Linked DNA regions of Homo sapiens: region 1 is linked to region 2. The links are contacts of gene promoters, found by promoter capture Hi-C in blood cells and fetal thymus (Javierre and others, 2016). All regions are on one chromosome and are shown on one strand. Each heading gives the region's core, a stretch centred on a gene start or on the middle of the fragment in contact. The rest is flanking DNA. Distances are from core to core; before and after follow the strand shown.

The links. The method cuts DNA at HindIII sites, captures the fragments that hold promoters and counts their contacts. A CHiCAGO score of 5 or more calls a contact.
Region 1: a contact is called between a fragment that was not itself captured here and the fragment with the promoter of UBE2B in region 2, in 1 of 17 cell types (endothelial precursors). The highest score is 5.3, in endothelial precursors.

Annotation. Positions count from the first base shown.
Region 1 is chr5:134,590,433-134,593,266 of GRCh38, reverse strand. No RefSeq gene overlaps it. Among named protein-coding and RNA genes, the nearest start is that of SAR1B, 41 kb to the left of the region's middle. RefSeq lists enhancers at 255-848, 1,669-1,728. The HindIII fragment of the contact is 1,068 bases long and covers 803-1,870 here.
Region 2 is chr5:134,370,090-134,372,838 of GRCh38, reverse strand. UBE2B (ubiquitin conjugating enzyme E2 B) reads right to left here and starts at 1,270. Exons shown (of 6, transcript NM_003337.4): 1 at 1,200-1,270. The coding sequence starts at 1,243. It also overlaps a transcript of CDKL3 not described here. RefSeq lists enhancers at 938-1,037, 1,978-2,047, 1,556-2,151 and a silencer at 1,458-1,507. The HindIII fragment of the contact is 3,578 bases long and covers 1,041-2,749 here.

The sequences.
Region 1 (2,834 bases), core at 87-2,586, 220 kb before region 2:
GGCTTTTCAGATGAGGGCCATGAAGGAGTTAAAATTGACGGGGCAAGTTAGTGCCAATCCCATGCCCTTTCTTGACTGGATGGAAGTATTCCTGGAGGGGAGAGGAATCCCTAAGATTTACTCTCTTCTTGAGAGTCCCCTCTGATCCCCGATGCCTCTACGGGGGCATGTCTACTTCTCCTGTGACATTGGCTCACTTGAGACTCTTTTTTTTTGGGACAGGGTCTCACTCTGCCACCCAGGCTGGGGTACAGTGGTATGATCACAGCTCACTGCAGCCTCCTGGACTCAGACTATCCTCCCACCTCAGCTTCCTGAGTAGCTGGGACTACAGATGCCCACCACCACACCCAGCTAATTTTGTATCTTTTTGTGGAGATGGGGTTTTGCCAGGTTGCCCAGGCTTCACTTGTGACTCTTACCTGGATGTGGCAGAGATAAGGCCCATCCATCAGACCTCCCTCCCAAGCCTCCTAGGATGCTACTTCAGTAAGGAATGGGCATGAATATTCCAGCTGGCATTTAGGGAGCAATGCTTTGATACCAAGCAACAGGCACTAGAACCAGGCAGGCTCCCAGAGTCCCAAAATAGCAGTTCAGAGTACCCACAGGTGAAAGTTTATTTTGCTGAGTCACTTTTCCTCCTTGGCTTCTACAAACCCTTGGCTGTTCTTCTGAGTTTCATGTTAATCACAACATTCAATCCCTAGCAATGGAATGTTCCTTTTTTGCAAAAGGGGTGAGGTGAGGGCACAGGAGGGATGTCCTATTCAACTACCTCTAGCCTCTCGGGTTACAAGCTTTCAGGTGTGAAGGATGATCACAGAGCTGACAAGGGGCCTGAGTAACCCACAAGGCTGGGGAGCTGTGTGGTTTTTTGGCCCAGGCAGCTGACTGTCAGATATGTGACTGAAGCGGCTTCTCTGACCATCAGCTGTTTGCAACCAGCCCCCATCTAGGGGCTGCACCGGGCCAGTCCCTAGAGTGGAACTGACCCCAGACCACCGTTGGGCTTAGGGAGGCCCGTGAAAACTTGTAAACAAACAGGGTTTACCGGCTCAGAATCCGGGAAGTGAGAGTTGGTAAACAAATCCCTCTGGCCTCCTTGCCTCTGGTCAGTCAGCAAGTCTGTGAGTGCTCTCCTGTACCACTGTGTCCTGCCCTCCTCTAACACCTTTTGTGGCTCCTCATTTTGTCCACTTCATACCCATGTCCTCTTTGAGCCTCTCAGCCACCCTGCATGGTGGGCCCAGCAGGAGCTCTCATCCTTATTAACAAATGAGGAAACTAAGGGCCAGAATGCAGGTCAATAATTTTCCATTACCCCAAGGACAACAAAATTCCATTTCTAGCAGCTTCCTCTTTCGTGGTGGATTCATGGATAAATTCTCTAGACTTGAATGGCCACATGTTGCTTAATGTTCATTGAGAATGGAGGGAAGTGGCCGGGAGCAGTGGCTCATGCCTGTAATCCCAGCACTTTGGGAGGCTGAGGTGGGCGGATCACCTAAAGTCAGGAGTTTGAGAATGGAGGGAAGAATAAGGGGGACCACCCACTAAATACAAACCTCTAGACCCGAGGCAACCCACTTGAGCATTATCCCAAAGACAGAGGCCTCCATCCCTATCAGGGAGGCCTAGGCCCCCTTCCAAGCCTGAGGAGGGATGCCTCCTCTTCTCTTCCAGTGCCTCTAGGCCCTGCTCCATGCTTCACCGTGTCACTATCCCAGCCCGACCTGGCATCTCACCCCATGACCACGCCCATGACTAATCCTGTGCTCCTAATGGCACACTCACCTGGTGACAGATGAGTCAGCCGCCACAATGGTGTTCTGATGGTGCAAAGGTGACAAGCTGAGTGGATAAAGCTTCTTCCTTCTCTCCTCTGCCCAAGTTGTGTATGGAGGCTCACCCAGCCCCATCTGCCAGCTAGCCCCACCTCACCCAGCTGGCCTCAAGTTAAAGGGCCCTGGTGAGATAGGAGAATAGGGAATTAGGGTCACCAAGGATCAAGGCATAAGCAAAAGAACAGCAGGTGCAGCCACTTCTAGGCAAGATTAGGCAGCATACAGGCCACATCCTCACTCCTGTGATAACAAGACAGAAATTTCCACTTCAGCCTCTGATTGACCACGGGCCAAGTATCCACTTCAGCCTCTGATTAGTTGCTGGCCAATCTGTCATAGGGTATAACCAACTGGAGGCCTTTAAAGGGTACCTAGGAGTGTTACCAAATTCTTTTTTTGTTTTTGAGACAGAATCTTGTCCTATCACCCAGGCTGGATTGCAGTGGCTTGATCTCCACTCACTGCAAACTCTGCCTCCTGGGTTCAAGCAATCCTCCCATCTCAGCCTCCAGAGTAACTGGGACCACAGGCACACCACCATGCTCAACTAATTTTTTCTTTCTTTCTTTCTCTCTCTCTTTTTTTTTTTTTTAGTAGAGACTGGGTTTTACCATGTTGGCCAGGCTGGTCTCGAACTCCTGGCCTCAAGTGATCCACCCGCCTGGGTCTCCCAAAGTGCTGGGATTACAGGCGTGAGCTCTAATCCACCAGCCACCAAATTCTTTTAGTTTAATAAGAACCCTAAAGAACATTGCAATGGGGCTCTGGAGCTGCTTGCTCGAGCCTGCTCCCACTCTGTGGAGTGTACTTCCACTTCAGTAAATCACCTTCATTGCTTCTTTCGTTGCTTTGTTCTTTTGTTTCTTTGTGTGTTTTGTTCAATTCTTCGTTCAGTGCGTAAGAACCTGGACAACTCACAGTCAAGACCTTCCATCCGGTAACACTGGAAAGCTTTCCCTTGCCCTCTGACCACAGCCCCTCCCCACA
Region 2 (2,749 bases), core at 21-2,520:
ACACAAATACATATGCAGTTGTTTTTCATGGGGCATCATAATTTGCAACTAGTCCACATTAAAAAAATGGTTTTTAGTCAATCTCAAGCAAATTAGGCCACCACGAACAGAAGCCTTAGAAGAACTGCACTGCTTGACGCCTACCTTTAAATGGCTAAGAGAAGCTACGAATGAATTAAATAAGTTGGCCAAATCCAAGTGCCTCACATAGGCTTTATAATAGCTGAGAGGTGACTTCCTGAGCGACAAATCTAAGTTTTTATGCTAGATATTTTGTTCAATTAGGGCAGGTGTCCCCAGAAAAAATGTTAAGAAAAATGTGCAGAGTATCAAAATGATGTTTTCTCACTTATTTTTTCTATGTCTCTAAGTATCCAATAAAAGGTAAACAACGGAATAATCATTTTCTATCTCACAACCCCAATACCTCCTAACAAAACCCTATTTTATTTACCAAAGGAGGCCCAGGGAGTATCAGATTAGCGCCAGTCTAAGGGAAGGCATTTTTCCAGACTCGGGAGGCTATAGATAGGGGCTTTCTTCACCAGCCAGAGCTGAGTTCCAGAAAGCACTGGCAGCCGGGGTGGCCAGCTCTAAGGTCCCAGATCTCTAAGTCAGTTCCCAAGGTCCTTTCAGGCGGGCGGGGACAGAGTCGGGTTTCGGGGGATGGGTTAACCTCCGGGCCTCACGCACTGGACCCCACCCTCAGGGCACAAATGGAAAGGATTGGCAGGAGTCGGGAGAGGGGTTCGCCCCAACACGGCTCCTCGGAGAAGACGGCGGGGCCGTGAAACAAAGCTGACTGGTGCTGCCGGAGAGGAACAAGCTCCCGCAGGAGCTCACTTTGAGGGGACAAGAAGGGGGCGCCGCAGGGTGCAGGGGCGGGCGGATAATGTCTGATCGCCTGGGCGAGACGCCGGGCAGCTGGCCGAAATGGGCAGCAGGGAACCCTAGACCAGTCGATCGACACCGTTTTACTTTTTGTGGGGAGGGGAAGCAGTATCAAAATTTCTTCGGGCGCCAGAACGAGCGGCAAAGCTTATGGGAGTAGGGCCGAGGCTAGGACCCGGCTTCCGCCAGTCCCGCTGGGCCCACAGCCGGCCCTCTGAGGGTCACAAAGGGGAAGGTGTCTGGGATCCACGCCCTGCAGCCCCGCAGCTTTGAGGGGCCGTCATCTAGGCGAAGGTGAAGGCCCTTACCGCTTGAAATCCCGCATGAGCCTCCTCCGGGCCGGGGTCGACATGCTCCGCAGCTGCCCCGCGGTCAGTCTGAAAAAAAAAAAGTCCCGCGCAGCCCCCCCACCCCCCGGCGCGGCGGCCGAATCACTGTGGATCGCCGCCGCCGCCGCCGCCGCCGCCGCCGCCGAGACTGACAAACAACCCTGCAATGACGTCTCCCTCCGCCGCCTCCGGATCCCTCCGCCCTCCGCCGCTACCACAGTGTGAGTGCTGGGGGAGGAGGGGGCGGGACGCGGGAGCGCGCCTTCCCCGAGCCCTTCAGCGGGGCGCGGTTCCCCCTGGGCTTCCTGAAGTAATAGACAAATTTGTGTTCTCTGTGTTCAGACTAGAGGTTGTGGATTCAAAGACCACGAAACAGAAACACTATCCCGTCTCCCTCCCCGTCACTAGTTTAGGCTCGGCGGGGTGGAGAAAGAGGGACGCATCCGGGCCAGAGATTTCAGGGAAAGGAGGTGGGATGATGTAAGATCACGTGACTGCCCGCGGCCTTGTCAACAATCCACCCCTGAGTGGGAGGGGGAGAAGTATCTAGAACCACGTGTCCCTATGACGCGTTTAGAACGGGTCACGTGAGCGCCTCGCCTGGATGTGAGTTTCAGCCAGGTCTGTGAAGCGGGTTTAAGAGGGTGAGGGCGGGATAAACCTTTATTAGTTGTTTTCTGTTTATCACAGGTATAGAGACAACATTACCCAAGAGGTCATGGCAGAATCAACAGCTTGTTTTGTTTTCTTTAAACCGGGACCAAAAATAATTCCCCTCTGGTTGGTTCAGTGGCTTATTAACTCTGGTACTTGGGGCAAGAAGAGTGAGAGGATCGCACGATCTTCTAAGGCAGCCTTGAATACTGAGGCCCACACAACAATCTCCTGAAATGGTTCCTTGAAGCTACCAGATAGTCTTTCTGCTTTGCAGTGGGGTTTCTAGTATTGGAAATTCTGGGCAAATATTAAAGGATGGTGTATTATGCAGTTTTTCCTTTCTGGGTCTGCTTTCAATTGAAGATATGTGTCAGAGTCCGGGGACTTGCCTATGGTGGGGGAGTACCATTGTATTTTTAAGGAATGTGGGGGTGCAGTCTTCCAAGCATATCAATGAGTGGTTGGTTGTCAAAGAAACCTACAAATATGATTCATATTCTGGGGGAGAGCTCCGGCAGACATGAGTGAGGGTTATATATCTAGCCTGAGATAACTTCAGGTTTTCTACACTAGCAAGAAAGGTGCAAATGGGCCAGAAGGGCCCCCCACCACCAGGGGGTTCAGAGGTGTTGACCTCCCAAAGACCTTGAATATTTTCTGTGGTCACCGTCCTTCCCTCTATTGCTTCCAATTCCTACCTTCAGGACTTTGTTATACTAAGGACTCTGAGTACTTTTGTATCCATTTGGGGAACTGTTCAGTTCAACAGGTAAAGGGAGGGTGGAATGAGGACCTTAACATTGCCTCAGCCTTGCCCCTGATTCCATGGAAGCAGAGTTAACTTTTCTGACTTTCCTTGTACCTCTTTCTTC